Regions from separate parts of the Homo sapiens genome. Here region 2 is linked to region 1. Evidence: promoter capture Hi-C in human tissues and cell types (Jung and others, 2019). All regions are on one chromosome and are shown on one strand. The core of a region is centred on a gene start or on the middle of the fragment in contact, and the rest is flanking DNA. Distances in the headings are between cores, read along the strand shown.

Region 1 (7,169 bases), core at 1-2,500:
CCGGCCCGCGCCACCCGCTGCCGGTCCCCTCCAGCCCCCCGCCCCGGCTCACCTGGCTCATACTTGAGGTAGAGGATGGAGACGATGAAGTAACTGAGGTCGAAGACGGGGAAGAGCGGCACCCGCGAGAAGCTGAGCGCCAGTTCGCCCAGGCTCAGCGCCGAGAGCAGCTCCATGGCGCCCGCCTGCCCGCCTGCCGGGTGCCACCCGGGGCCCCGGCCTCGTCCGTCCCGCCGCCCGCGGCCCGGCGACTGCGCCCCCGCAGCTGGGCCCGCCCCCGCCCGCCAGGCGCCACCCCAGGCCCGGCCCCCGCGGGAGAGGAGGGGCGACGGCCCACCCCGGGACAGGTGGTGGGGACGCCCAGCACCACGGACGCAGCTGGACGGTCGGGCGTCCCAGGCGTTGACCCTCCTGCCATCGCTACCCCGTTCCGCCCAGCGAGGCGGGGTGCGGGGCACCCGTGCAAGGCGAGGGAGGCTGGGGAGCTGCCTGTTCTGGGGGCCCGTCCCTCACGGAGCCCACCCACGCGGGACGCCCGTTCCCAGGGGGCCGGATCGGCCAGGACTTTGTCCCCGTGGGCTCAATTAGGACCCCGATCTTCGGTGGAGCCCAGTGAGGACCCCTACGCCATGGTGGGACCCCATGAATCAGAACCCCTGTTCCCCGTGGAGATAGGTTAGGACCTCGGTCCTCTGTGGAGCCCCGTCAAGACTTTTCTGCCCCATAGGGTCCGTTCGATCAGGAACCCCGTCTCCGGTGGGGCTCTGCAAATCAGGACGTCTTGTGGGGGGCAGCTCAGTGGGAACCCCCGTTCCCCATGGGGCCCAGGAGGATCTCATTTTAGAGCCCAGTTGGTTGGGGCACCCGTTTCTAGGGACCCCACTGCGTCAGGACCCCGCACCCTGTGCAGCTCAGGAGTCAAAGGATTCCTTTTGTCCAGAAGCCCAATTTGGGACCCCAGAAAGTGAGTAGGAATTGCTGCCCAGCTAACCCTACGGCATCGAGACCTCACGCATGCGCGGCACGCTTCGAACGCGTGACCCAATCCCGCCCCCAGGAGACCCCGCTCCTCCCATTCTGGCTCTCGGGGCCTCCCCAGCGAGGTGGGGCGCTCGCGCTCCCCTAAGGGGGTCTGGCCTGCAGAGGGCGGGACCCTCCCAGCCTTGACCTTCGATTGGCCCAGCCCTCGCCACTGTTGCTTTAGGATTGGTCGGCTTGTGCTCCTCTCCCCTCCCTCCCTGGGGCTTCCGCTTCCGGTTCTGACGGACGCTTCGGCCGTAACGATGATCGGAGACATCCTGCTGTTCGGGTAATTAGGGGGACCAGAGGCTGGGAAGAGAGAGCCAGGCAGGACGCGGGGGCGCCCCTAGTAACTGTAATTCTCCCTCTGCAGGACGTTGCTGATGAATGCCGGGGCGGTGCTGAACTTTAAGCTGTGAGTAGGTCGCGGCCGGACTGCGGCTCCATCCGGGGAACCCGTAGCCCCGCCCTCATAAGCGTGATCTCGGCGCACTTCTCAGGCCCCGCCCCCAAGCCGCAGGCCCCGCCCTATCCGCCCTCTGGGCACGCCTCCAGCCTGGTTTATCTTCCTCGCCCCCCACCCCCCGAGAGACCTTAAACCCATACTCTCCGTTCCTTGGTTGTCCCTCTGTTCACCTTCCTGGAGAGCTTAAGCCCCATCCCCCAAGAAATAGCCCCACCGCGGACCTTCCGCCCTGCACCCGCACTGTCGGGCCACTTTGTAAACGGTCGGTGGCTGCTGACCTGGCTGTGATTGTCCGGGCAGTGGGGGCCCAGAGAAGGGTATTGAACGTCAGAGGTCACACAGCAAGTTTGCGGCAGGGCCAGGGCTGAAACTTAGTGTTTGTGGCCTTCTGAGCTGGGGGTCAGGGGGCTGAGGACTCTATGTCCCATTGAAAGTGGACACTGTCTGCTCCTCTTTGTAGGAAAAAGAAGGACACGCAGGGCTTTGGGGAGGAGTCCAGGGAGCCCAGCACAGGTAAGGTCTAATTGGATCCTGGAATTGCATGGTCCACTTCAGAGGACAGTTCTGTTTCGCCAAGCCCTACCTTCGTTTTCTTTCTTTCTCTTTTTTTTTTTTTTTTTTTTTTGACACAAGGTCTTGCTCTGTTGTCCAGGTTGGAGTGCAGTGGTGCGATCATGGCTCACTGCAGACTCGACCTCCTGAGCTAAAGTGATCCTTCCACCTCAGCCCCCTTAGTAGCTGGGATTACAGGTGTGTGCCACCATGCCAGGCTAAATTTTGTATTTTTTGTAGAGATGGGGTTTCTCCACGTTGCCCAGGCCGGTCTCGAACTCCTGGGTTCAAGTGATCCCTGCCTTGGCCTCCCGAAGAGCTGGGATTACAGGCGTGAGCCACAAGTTTTCTCTTTAATTGAGCGTGTGTGTGAGTGGGAGATGACTGAGAATGTGCTAGCCTTTCTGCCTACCTCTGTCATCTATTTCTTTCTCCTACCAGACCTCCCTGATGTGAGCACTCACATCACTTCCTACCGTTATAATGTTCTGTTATGTTTGCTGTCATCTGGCTAATGTCTGCCCCTCACATATGACTGTAAACTTCAGAGAAGAGGCCCTAGCTTGGCTTGTCCCATCCTTTGTTCTTGCCGTACCCGTCCTCCGATGCCTGTGAATGAATGAATGAACAACCTCACACATAGCTGTTGCTTTCAGAGTGCTGCAGACCTGCCACTTTTAAAATTAGATGCCAACATTAGATTTTTAATCAGGAGATTTTATATAAAAATTAAGATGTCTGATTTTTCTTGAAAAATTGGAACATTCTGCAACTCAAGATTCAGGAGAGCTGTTTGCATCTATTGAGTGTAGTTGAGAAGGACTCTGAGGAGGTGGGGCCTGTAGACTCTGCCTCATCCCAGCCCTAACCCCTTCATATGTCTATCATCTGCCTGGGCCCTGGAGGCCCCAGAATTTACACTTCCTGCTGAATTTGATTGTGTAACTATTTGGAGTCTTAAGGGGATCTGTACATGACTATTGTATCCATTCATTAATTCTTTCATTCACCAGATATTTGAGTACCTAACGCATGCTGGCTACTGTGCTAGGTGCTGGGGTACAGCAGGGGTAAGACAGATAGAGTGGAACTTACCATGGGGTGGGACACATGGTTTCTAAGCAGGGAATAGATAGTGACAGAGGTGACGTTAGGTGACAGAGGCAGGGAGTCACAGGATGGTGATGGGGTTGCCCTCCTGCTGGGGTGTGGAAGGGAAGGCCATTTGAGGAGGCGGCGTCACAGTCAAGGCGGTGGATGCCATGATGGAGCACTGCCCAAGGATGGGGGAACCCTGAGGAACAGAGGTTTTCTTCTTTTAGAGACAGGGTCTTGCTCTGTTGCCCAGGCTGGAGTGCAGCGGCACAGTCATAGCTCACTGCAGCCTTGAGCTCCTGGGTTCAAGAGATCCTCTTGCCTCAGGCTCCCAAGTAGCTGGGACTACAGGCACTTACTACCACGCCTGGCTAATTTTCTAAATGTTTTTTGTAGAGATAGGTATCTCGCTGTGTTAACCAGGCTGGTGTCCAACTCTTGGTCTCAAACGATCCTCCCACCTCAGCCTCCCAAAGTGCTGGGATCACAGGCATGAGCTACCACGCCTGGCCGAGCTGAGATTTTGAAGACACTCCAGCAGCTCCCCTTTTTGGGGGCCTGCCCTTGGGTGCTGACCCAGTTAGGTGCTTCCTGTTAGTGTTGCATTCTCCCTCCATTCTTAAAAGATAATGGTCACTTTCCCATTTTACAGATCAGGAAACTGAGGGTCAGAGATGTGGCTCAACTTTTTTGTGGCCACATAGGGAATCAATGAGAATCAGGATTAGAACCTGGGTTTTTCTGACTCTAGCGGTTGTGCACTCAATCACTAGACCATCTGTCCGTCTATCCATTGATCCATCCATTCATACATTGACTCAGCAGCCATGTGTTACTTAACCCCCACGTGGAAGGCACTACCAGGCCCTAGAGTTGCACTGTACAGATCCGAATCAGAGCTCCAGTGGGCGGGAGATTTGGCACAAAGTGGCAGGAGCATCAGTGACAGGGATGCCAGGCAGGGCACCAGTGCTCTGTCAGGAGCTTCCTGCTTTGCTGTGTCCAGTCTCCTTCCAGCCCAGGTGCTGCACCTGCTGCTTCCCCTGTGGGAGCTGCTCTTTGCCCTCCATCCTCTTTGCCTGGCTTAACTGTAATACCATAGTGGCTGCATTTGTTGAGAGCGTCATGCGTGCCAGGCAGTGTGCTAAGGTCTTCCTAGCTGCCTGACACCCCTATTGACACAAGAGGGAATGCACATAGATAGTGCAGGGATGGTCCCAGGTCACCAGGTCACCTGTGCAGAAGGACAGAGGCAGGATTTGAGCTCACATTTGTTAAACTGCCCATGTTTGAGGTCAGAACTTGGAGCTCTGGCACTTCCTCAGAAAGCCTGTTTTTTGTTTTTTTGTTGTTTTTTTTTTTGAGATGGAGCCTCTCTCTGTTGCCCAGGCTGGAGTGCAGTGGCACCATCTCAGCTCCCTGCAATCTCCGCTTCCTGGGTTCAAGCAATTCTCCTGCCTCAGCTTCCCTATTAGCTGGGATTACAGGCACCCACCACCATGCCCAGCTAATTTTTGTATTTTTAGTAGAGATGGGGTTTCGCCATGTTGGCCAGGCTGGTCTCGAACTCCTGACATCAGGTGATCTGCCCTCCTTGGCCTCCCAAAGTGCTGGGATTACAGACTTGAGCGACGGCACCCGGCTGGAAAGGCTTTTTTTTTACCTCCCACCCTTCCCCATGCACATGCCATGTTGGGTCTCTGCAGTGTGTATTCCCAGGACACCCAAACTTTCCCACCAGAGCAGTCACATGTGAATATTTGTTTAGTATTTCTCCTCCCCATATGCTTGTTGGGGCAGAGCCACCGGTCTTTGTTTCTTTCTGTATCCCCTGTATACTGCTGTTGCCTGGAATGAGTAACCTTTTTTTATTTTTTGAGACAGAGTCTCACTCTGTTGCCCAGGCGTGCAGTGGCGTGATCTCAGCTCACTGCAGCCTCCACCTCCTGGGTTCAAGTGATTTTCGTGCCTCAGCCTCCCGAGGATTTGGGATTACAGGCACGCGCCACCACGCCCTGCTAATTGTTTTGTAGTTTTAATAGAAACGTGGTTTCACGATGTTAGCCAGGCTGATCTCAAACTCGCGACCTCAGGTGATCCACCTGCCTCGGCCTCCCAAAGTGCTGGGATTACAGTTGTGAGCCACTGCACCCGGCCTGGAATGAGTAACGTTTGATTGGCATCTGTTGATGGTGGGAGGTCCTGTTTTCACGATCCTTCGCTAGGGGAAGGGTCTTGCTGAGCAGCGCCTCTCAAAACTTCCTGGAAACAGACCAAGCATTTAATGTTTCTAGTCTGTGCTGGATCAGCCCTGTATACAGGTTGTGCTGCACGTGACTAATCCTGTCGGCTAGATAATACTAGGCTCGTCTAAACCGTTTTCAGCAAGATGGTGTGTTCAGCACAAGCTCGGATGGAGCAGGGATGTCAGGTTGTCATCCCTGAAAAAGTAGAAATTTCTGGGCTTGTGTTGTGTATGCTGTACTTACCATGCAGCCCCAGTCTGCAGATACTTCGGGTAGCACCCTTGTAGATCACCTAATCTGGAGCCATTCTTTTTTTTTTTTTTTTTTTTTTTTTGAGATGGAGTCTTGCTGTGTCACCCAGGCTGGAGTGCAGTGACACCATCTCAGCTCACTGCAATCTCTGCCTCCCAGGTTCAAGTGATTCTCCTGCCTCAGCCTCCTGAGTAGCTGGGATTACAGTCATGCACCACCACACCCGGCTAACTTTTGTATTTTTAGTAGAGACGTGGTTTCACCATGTTGGCCAGGCTGGTCTCGAACTCCCGACCTCAGGTAATCTGCCTGCCTCGGCCTCCTGAAGTGCTGGGATTACAAGTGTGAGCCACCATGCCTGGCCTAATCTGGACCCATTCTTTTCATTCTGGAGGGCTTGAGAGGGAGAGTGATTGACTGGAAACCCTGGAAGAAGGGTCTAGAACCCAGGTCTCTGGAGTCTTCACGTACTAAATTGCCTTCCCTCGGAGGGGTTTCTGTTCCTTGGCATTCAAGGGGACCAGAGTAAGTCATCACCAAGAAACACCTTCCCTTTCACTTGCCTGAATTAGGATGCTTTCAGTTACAAACACTGCAAACCCAGCTCAAAGTGGTTAAAGCAAATTGAAACATCCAACAGAATTGTTTTCAGGCACCCTGGGTTTAGGTGTCAAACCAGTCCTTCAAGATTAGGGTTGGGGTTGGAGTTGGGGTTAGGGTTAGGGTTAGAGTCAGTATCTGACTCTCTGCAGCTCTCAATTCCCCTTTCTTTTATGTTGGTTTTACTGTGAGACTGGTTAGGGTTGGCAAAGATGACCCCAGAGCAGGGGTTGGCATGTTTTTCTGTAGAGGGCCACATAGTAAATATCTGAGGGCTTTGCGGGCCATATGGTGTCTGTCTGGCACAACAATGTGACTCAGCTCTGCTGTTGTAGTACAAAAGCAGCAGGACATGATATGTAAATGAATGGGTATGGCTGTGTGCCATAAAACTTTATTCATTGACACTGAGATTTGAATTTCTTGTAATTTTTGTGTCTCACAAAATAGTCTTCTTTCTTTTTTTTTTAATGTAAAAACCAGCCGGGTATGGAGACTCATGCCTGTAATCTCAACACTTTGAGAGGCTTAGGCGGGAGGATCACTTGAAGCCAGGAGTTCAAGACCCACCTGGGGAACATAGCAAAACCCCATCTTTATATTTTAAAAAAAAGTAAAAACTATTAGCTCATAGGCCATCCAAAAACAGGTGGAAGAGGCTGCTGGATTTGGCCTGTGGGCACTGAGCTTACTGAGCTTACATCTTCCCAGCTCAGTAAGCCTGGCAGAAGGTATCTCTTTCCCAGTAGTTGGGGGAAAAGTCCCAGGGTGGACTCTCATTGGACAGACTTGGGTCACATGCCCCTTCTTGAGCCAATCAGAGGCAGAGGGGCTTGGTGCTTTCAGGGGATTGGTCAGTGGTAGACACAGCCTGATGAGGGTAGGGAAGAGGGAGAAACCAAAAGGAAAAGCCACACTGTTGCCGAAGTTGGAGGCAG
Region 2 (7,169 bases), core at 1,683-4,182, 1.3 Mb before region 1:
GGCGACAGAGTGAGACTCCGTCTCAATGAAAGGAAAAAGAATCAATTTAAAGGTGGACAATTCCGGCCAGGCACAGTGGCTCACGCCTGTAATCCTAGCACTTTGGGAGGCCAAGGTGGGCGGATCACCTGAGGTCAGGAGTTCAAAACCAGTCTAGTCAACATGGTGAAACCCCGTGTCAACTAAAAATAAATAAAAATTGCTGGGTGTGGTGGCGGACACCTTTAATCCCAGCTACTCAGGAGGCTGAGGCAGGAAAGCCGCTTGAACCTGGGAGGCAGAGGTTGCAGTGAGCCGAGATCGTGCAACTGCACTCCAGCCTAGGCGGCAGAGTGAGACTCACTCTCAAAAAAAACCAAAAAGCTGGGTGTGGTGGCACATGCCTATAATCCCAGCTACTCGGGAGGCTGAGGCAGGAGAATCACTTGAACCCGGGAGGCGGAGGTTGCAATGAGCTGAGATCACACCACTGCACTCCAGCCTAGGCGACAGAGCGAGACTCCATCTCAAAAAAAAAAAAAGGTGTACAATTCAGTGTTTAAGTATATTCACAGCGTTGTGCAAATACCACCTCTGTCTAGTTCCAGAACACTTGCACCCCCCAAAAGAGGCCACATCACCATCAGCAGTCACTCCCTATTCCTCTTCCCCTAGCCCCTGGTAACCATCAATCTGCTTTCTGTCTCTGTGGCTTTCCCTGTTCTGGACATTTCAGTCCATATCAATGGAATCACAGGCCGGGTGCGATCACTCACGTTTGTAATCCCCGTGCTTTGGGAGGCTGAGGCAGGAGGATTGCTTGAGGCCAGGAGTTCAAGACCAGCCTGGGCAACATAGCAAGAGTCCGTCTCTACAAAATAAAAAATAATTAGGCACAGTGGCTTGTGCCTGTAGTTCCAGCTACTTAGGAGGCTGAGGTGGAAGGATCGCCTGAGCGTAGGAGGCTGAGGCCACAGTGAGCTATGATTGTGCCACTGCACTCCAGCCTGGGCAACAGAACAAGACCCTGTCTCTTAAAAGAAAAAAAAAAAAAGGAAACAAGGAAACAAGGCACCAATACATACATGATACAATGTGGTTGAACCTCAACAACACAATACTAAGTGAAAGAAGCCAGACACAAAAGGCCACACAGTGTGAGAGTACATTTATTTATTTATTTTGGAGACAGGGTCTCACTCTGTCGCCCAGGCTGGAGTGCAGTGGCGAAATCTCGGCTTACTGCAGCCTTGACCTCCTGGGCTCAAGTGATCCTCCCACCTGAGCCTCCTAAGTAGCTGGGACTATAGGTGCAGGCCACCATGCCTAGCTTTTTTTTTTTTTTTTTAAGGCAGGGTCTGACTATGTTGCCCAGGCTGGCCTTGAACTCCTGGGCTCAAGTGATCCTCCCGCCTCGGCCTTCCAAAGTGCTGGGATTACAGGCCTGAGCCACTGCGCCTGGCCCTTCGTTCCTTTTTATGGCTGAATATTCCTCCACTGCATGGATACGCCACATTTTGTTTATCCATTGTCCACAGCTAGACATTTGGGCTGTTTCCACGTTGGGGCTTTTTTTTGTTTTGAGACGGAGTTTTGCTCTTTCACCCAGGCTGGAATGCAGTGGCACAATCTCGGCTCACTGCAACCTCCACCCACCCGGTTCAAGCAATTCTCCTGTTTCAGCCTCCCAAGCAGCTAGGATTACAGGCACCTGCCACCACGCCCGGCTAATTTTTGTATTTTTATAGAGATGGGGTTTCACCATGTTGGCATGTGCCACCATGCCTATCTGATTTTTGTATTTTTAGTAGAGACGGGGTTTCACTATGTTGGCCAGGCTGGTCTCAAACTCTTGACCTCAAGTGATCCGCTTGCCTCGGCCTCTCAAAGTGCCTGGATTACAGGTGTGAGCCACAGTGCCTGGCAATTTCTGCTGTTTAAGCCACCCAGTCTGTGGTATTAGTTATGACAGCCCAAGCTGGAAATACAGACACTTTTCTCTGTGTAGTAAACACTCACTCACTTGCACACGTCATTCAATAAATATGTACTGGGCACCTAATACGTGTGCGATGCTGGGGAAAGAGGTGGCACAAATGAGCTTTCTGCCTGCATGGGACTCCCAGAGAAGAGCCAACACATGCAATCAGAGTCCTAATAAGGACACGCAGGGCGCCGGGGAAGCCCGGAGAGGGCTTCTGACCCAGCCTGGGTCAAAGGGCTTCCTAAAGGAGACATCTAAGGAAAAGTCTGAATGAGTGGGGGAGAGCGCAGCCTGCACGCGGGATGCAGGAGGTAGGCTGGAAAAGGGGGCGATTTGTATTCCAGGGAGATGGGAAGGTGTGGAGGGCGTTAGAGCCGGGAAGCCCAATCTATGGGTCACACAAGCCCTCTGGGGTTAGTGAGGAGGTGGACTCCCCAGATGGCAGGAGCTGGGAGCCCAGGCGGTACCCAGGGAGTGGCTCAGGCTGGGCGAGGGGCACACTTAGAAGCGAATCAAGACCCATGGGGATTAAGACCCCACGGATGTGAAGGTAAAATAACAGAATACAAAATTCAACAATGCCTCCTCTAAGCAGCCCTCCCGGCTATCCCTTTTGAAGTCCCCCACCACTAATCCCCCTACAAGAGGCCGGGGGAGTCCGCGCCCAACTCTGTCCCTCTCGAGACCAGAAGCTGCCTAGGGGCAGTCCGGGGCCAGGTGGCCTCGAACATGCTGTCGCGTCGGGCTTCAATCGTCTAGTCTGGAAATGGGCATCGCCCCCAACTAGGTGCGGTTCAGACTGGACGCCAGAAGTGCTCCTGCCTCCCAGCACCCCTCCTCCAGCCTTCCCAGGGGATGGTCCCAGGCCAAGCAGCCCCCGCCCCGCGCCTCTGCTCCCCGAACCCGGGTTCCGCCCGCGCCGCAGACGCTCCTACCTTCTTACCCCAGCGCCGGCCCGGTCGCGCCTCCGTGACGTCATCATGGGGCCTGCGCGCTGAGCTCCTGGCGGCGCGCACTCATTGCGCCTCAGTACCGCCGCCATTTTGGTAAAGAAAAAGATGGCTGGGCCTCGGACCCAAGCCAGGGTAGTCAGCCACTTCTTTGTCTCTTCAAAAAGAGGACACTTAATACGCCCTCATTCCCTACGCTCATTTAATATGTTGATGAACCAGGAGGGGCGGGCAGAGGCGAAAATCTAGAACATTGCCTTTACCAAGATGGCCGATGCCCGGATGAAAGATGGCAGCTGCGACTACACACGTGGTCCGGCGGCTTCAGCCTGGAGCGGCCCGGCCGCCAGAGCGCGCCCGCGGTCCATGAGGGGAGGTGGACCCAGTATAGCCCTGAGGAAGCCTCTCCGTAGCTCTTCGCAATCCCTTAACGCTTTAAAAGTGCTTTCCTAGTCCTGAGTCTCTGCGTCCCACTGGTGACGCTGGGGCGGGGCTAGGAGAGGGGAGATAAATGGGGCAGAGAAATTAACACACACCGCGCAGTCCAGGTAGGGAAACCGAGGCTCAGAGAGACCAGGAATTGAGTTTGGCCAAAATGTAACCGCGAGTAGGCTCATAACCGCGAGTAGGCTCAAATTCCGTCTCTTGCTCCTGCCAGTGCCTCTTCCTGGATTGCTGACCTGCTCCCCACTTCTGCAATATTATTTATTAATTTTATTTAGAAATTAGGTTTGAGGCGCCAATTTGTCTTAGGCACTATACTTTAGATTTTCTGCATTTACTACTTCTCGGTGTTCTCAACAGTAAAAATGGCAGTATTAGGGGTCTAAGGTTACACTGGTCCTGACTGTGGAGAGGGAAAAGCAAATGCTTTGGGGGCAGTTCAGGTAGGAGTAGTTGACCACAGAGTCCATTCCCTAAAAGGCATCCCCCCAGCGACCTTGCTGGGACCTAAATCCCAGTGCGCGATGCACCTCCCCTGCTCTAACGCCTCCCCTGGGTTCCCATTGTCCCGCAAGACTCCTCCCACCTCCCACCCCATCTCCCTTGGCTTCCCTCACCCTCCCATTAGCTCTCTGCTCAGGTCGCACCAGCCCCCTTCTTACAAATTGCCAGGCGCAGTCTTGCCTCAGGGAGTTCCCCCAGGAATTTCCCAGGTTTTTCCGTGGCCAGTTCCTTCCCTTCAGGCATGAGACAGAAAGGTCTCTGGGTGCAGGGGGCTTAAAGTCGGAAAATCACATGAAAGATTATTATCCTGGCTGGTCGCAGTGGCACATGCCTGTGATCCCAACCCTTTGGAAGGCTAAGGTGGGAGGATCGCTTGAGGCCAGGTGTTTGAAAGCAGCCTGGGCAACATTATGAGACCCCATCTCGACAGAAGATAAAAACATTAGCTGGGCGTGGTGGCATGCTCATCCTCCCATTCAAGAGAATCACTTGAGCCCAGAAGTTGGAGGGTGCAGTGAGGTATGATAGCGCCACTGCACTCCAGCCAGCCTGGGTGAAGGAACCTCTCTTAAAAAATACTAATAAAGGCCAGGCATGGTGGCTCACGCCTGTAATCCTAGCACTTTGGGAGGCCGAGCCAGGCAGATCACCTGAGGTCAGGAGTTTGAGACCAGTCTGACCAACATGGTGAAACCCTGTTTCTACTAAAAACACAAAAATTAGCTGGGCGTGGTGGCACATGCCTGTAATCCCAGCTACTTGGGAGGCTGAGGCAGGAGAATCACTTGACCCCAGGAGGCAGAGATTGCAATGAGCCGAGATCGTGCCATTGCACTCCAGCCTGGGCTACAGAGTGCAACTCCATCTCAAAATAAATAAATAAATAATAATAATAAAGGCCAGGCGTGGTGGCTTATAGCTGTAATCCCAGCACTTCAGGAGACTGAGGCGGGCAGATCACTTGGTGAGTAGTTCAAGACCAGCCTGGCTAACATGGTGAAACCCCATCTAAAAATTACCCAGGCGTGGTGGCATGCGCCTGTAATCCCAGCTACTTGGGAGGCTGAGGCAGGAGAATCGCTTGAACCTGGGAGGCAGAGGTTGCAGTGAGCTGAGATCACGCCACTGCACTGCAGCCTGGGTGACAGAGTAAGACTCTGTCTCAAAAGTAATAATAATAATAATAACAATAAAATAATAATCGTAATTGTGACTAAAAGATGTGCCTGGGGTTGAAATAGGGTTGTGGAGGCCCACAGCCTGGGTGATCAAAGAGGGCTTCTCAGAGGTGGTGGCATTTAAGGAGAGCTCTGAAGCTTGAGAAGGAAAGAGCTGAGTGAAAAAGAGAGGGAAAGGTGTTCTGGGCAGAGGGAACAGTATATGCAAAGGTGAGGAGGTGAATATAAAGTGAGGAAGATAAAAGTAGCCCTGGACCACACACAGTCAGCTAGCAGTTGGCCTGGCAGTCACAGCTAAACTGTAGAGTTTTTTGATTGACCAAACCAATTTCACGGAATGTCCACATCAGACAGGGACACTCAGACCAGTCACACTTGGCCGCAGAAAAACAAAACCCTTCCGTAATCGAGTCTTAGCACAGGTGAATACAAGAGCATTGTCCAAACCACAAAAATGGCCAAACCTCCCCATCTCCTGGCCAAAGGGCGTGACTGCTAGTTTTCGCCAATTCCCAGCAGGTTCCCCCGCCTTCTAGGTAAAAAGATTATTAAAGGCCGGGCGCGGTGGCTCACGCCTGTAATCCCAGCACTTTGGGAGGCCAAGGCAGGCAGATCACGAGGTCAGGAGATCGAGACCATCCTGGCTAACACGGTGAAACCCCATCTCTACTAAAAATACAAAAAATTAGCCGGGTGTGGTGGTGGGCGCCTGTAGTCCCAGCTGCTCAGGAGGCTGAGGCAGGAGAATGGCGTGAACCCGGGAGGCAGAGCTTGCAGTGAGCGGAGAACACACCACTGTACTCCAGCCTGGGGGACAGAGCAAGACTCCATCTCAAAAAAAAAAAAAGAGATTATTAAAATACTTAGAGAATTGTCCCACTAGCTGTTTGCATACAATCCAGGGCAGAATCCCACTCCCTTGAACTCTCCTCGAATCACCCCACAGTTGCCCTAGTTCTGTAACACGCTCCTTCTCACTTTCTCTTTCTGAGATAAACAGAACCCCTTCTGGTGTGTCTTCCTTCAATGCATTAATCCATAAACCCAGCTGGGTTTCACTGCAGCTGTTTTTCTGGTGGTATTTGACATCAACAGGACTGGATGTCCTACTGAGACTGGGCTGAGACCTTCCCTGCCACCAATCAGTACCCTGGACTCAGCAAAAGTGCACCCATCTGAGGTCAGGCACGGTGGCTCACGCCTGTAATCCCAGCACTTGGGGAGGCCAAGGAAGGCAGATCATCTGAGGTCAGGAGTTGAAGACCAGCCTGGCCAACAGGGTGAAACCCCGTCTCTACCAAAAATACAAAAAGTAGCTGGGCATGGTGGTGTGTGCCTGTAATCCCAGCTACTCAGGAGGCTGAGGCAGGAGGATCGCTTGAACCCGGGAGGCAGAGATTGCAGTGAGCTGAGACTGCACCACTGAACTCCAGCCTGGGTGACAGAGCAAGACTCTGTCTCAAAAAAAAAAAAAATAGTGTGCACATCTGAGACCCTTGTGTCTCTATCTGCTTAAGGTGATTCTGCCTGTGGCTGGAAGGTAAGTTAATGCTGACTGGAGCTTCAGTTATGATCTCATTAGGGCCCTTCTGTGTAGGGTTAATTTCGTTTACTATTCTAGGAATGAGTTTCTCCACGGCTTTTTGGTTTTCTGATCAGCCACTCTGTTCCTTGGTGAAATTGTTTTCTCTCTCGACACCTCCTCCTGTGGACTGTCTCTTGTACAGGGCTGTATGAGTTTCTGGTGGCTACAGTAGCAAATGACCACAAACTAGTGGTTTTGAAAACAACAGAAATTGGCTGAGCGTGGTGGCTCATGCCTGTAATCCCAGCACTTTGGAAGGCCAAGGCAGGTGGATCTCCTGAGATCAGGAGATCGAGACCAGCCTGACCAACATGGTGAAACCCCGTCTCTACTAAAAATACAAAAATTAGCCGGACATGGTGGTGTACGCCTGTAATCCCAGCTACTCAGGAGGCTGAGGCAGAAGAATCTCTTGAACCTGGGGGGCAGAGGTTGCAGTGAGCCGAGATAGTGCCACTGCACCGCAGCCTGGGAGACAGAGCAAGACTCTGTCTCAAAAAAAAAAAAGGAAACAATGCAAATCAATTCTCTCATAGTCCTGGAGG

What was found. The method cuts DNA at HindIII sites, captures the fragments that hold promoters and counts their contacts. A contact is called where the count stands out against the background at its distance.
Region 2: the fragment with the promoter of CCDC124 here is called in contact with the fragment with the promoter of SMIM7 in region 1 in 1 of the 25 tissues and cell types used here (dorsolateral prefrontal cortex).

The regions. Positions count from the first base shown.
Region 1 is chr19:16,654,225-16,661,393 of GRCh38, reverse strand. SMIM7 (small integral membrane protein 7) reads left to right here and starts at 1,250. Exons shown (of 5, transcript NM_024104.4): 1 at 1,250-1,309; 2 at 1,394-1,435; 3 at 1,947-1,999. The coding sequence starts at 1,284. It overlaps TMEM38A (transmembrane protein 38A), which reads right to left and starts at 255. Exons shown (of 6, transcript NM_024074.4): 1 at 53-255. The coding sequence starts at 176. RefSeq lists silencers at 188-437, 458-657. The HindIII fragment of the contact is 23,986 bases long and covers 1-7,169 here.
Region 2 is chr19:17,928,778-17,935,946 of GRCh38, reverse strand. It overlaps CCDC124 (coiled-coil domain containing 124), which reads right to left and starts at 2,932. Exons shown (of 5, transcript NM_001136203.2): 1 at 2,899-2,932. RefSeq lists a silencer at 2,770-2,819 and enhancers at 2,900-3,089, 3,110-3,169, 3,316-3,854, 6,013-6,082, 6,713-6,812. The HindIII fragment of the contact is 29,527 bases long and covers 1-7,169 here.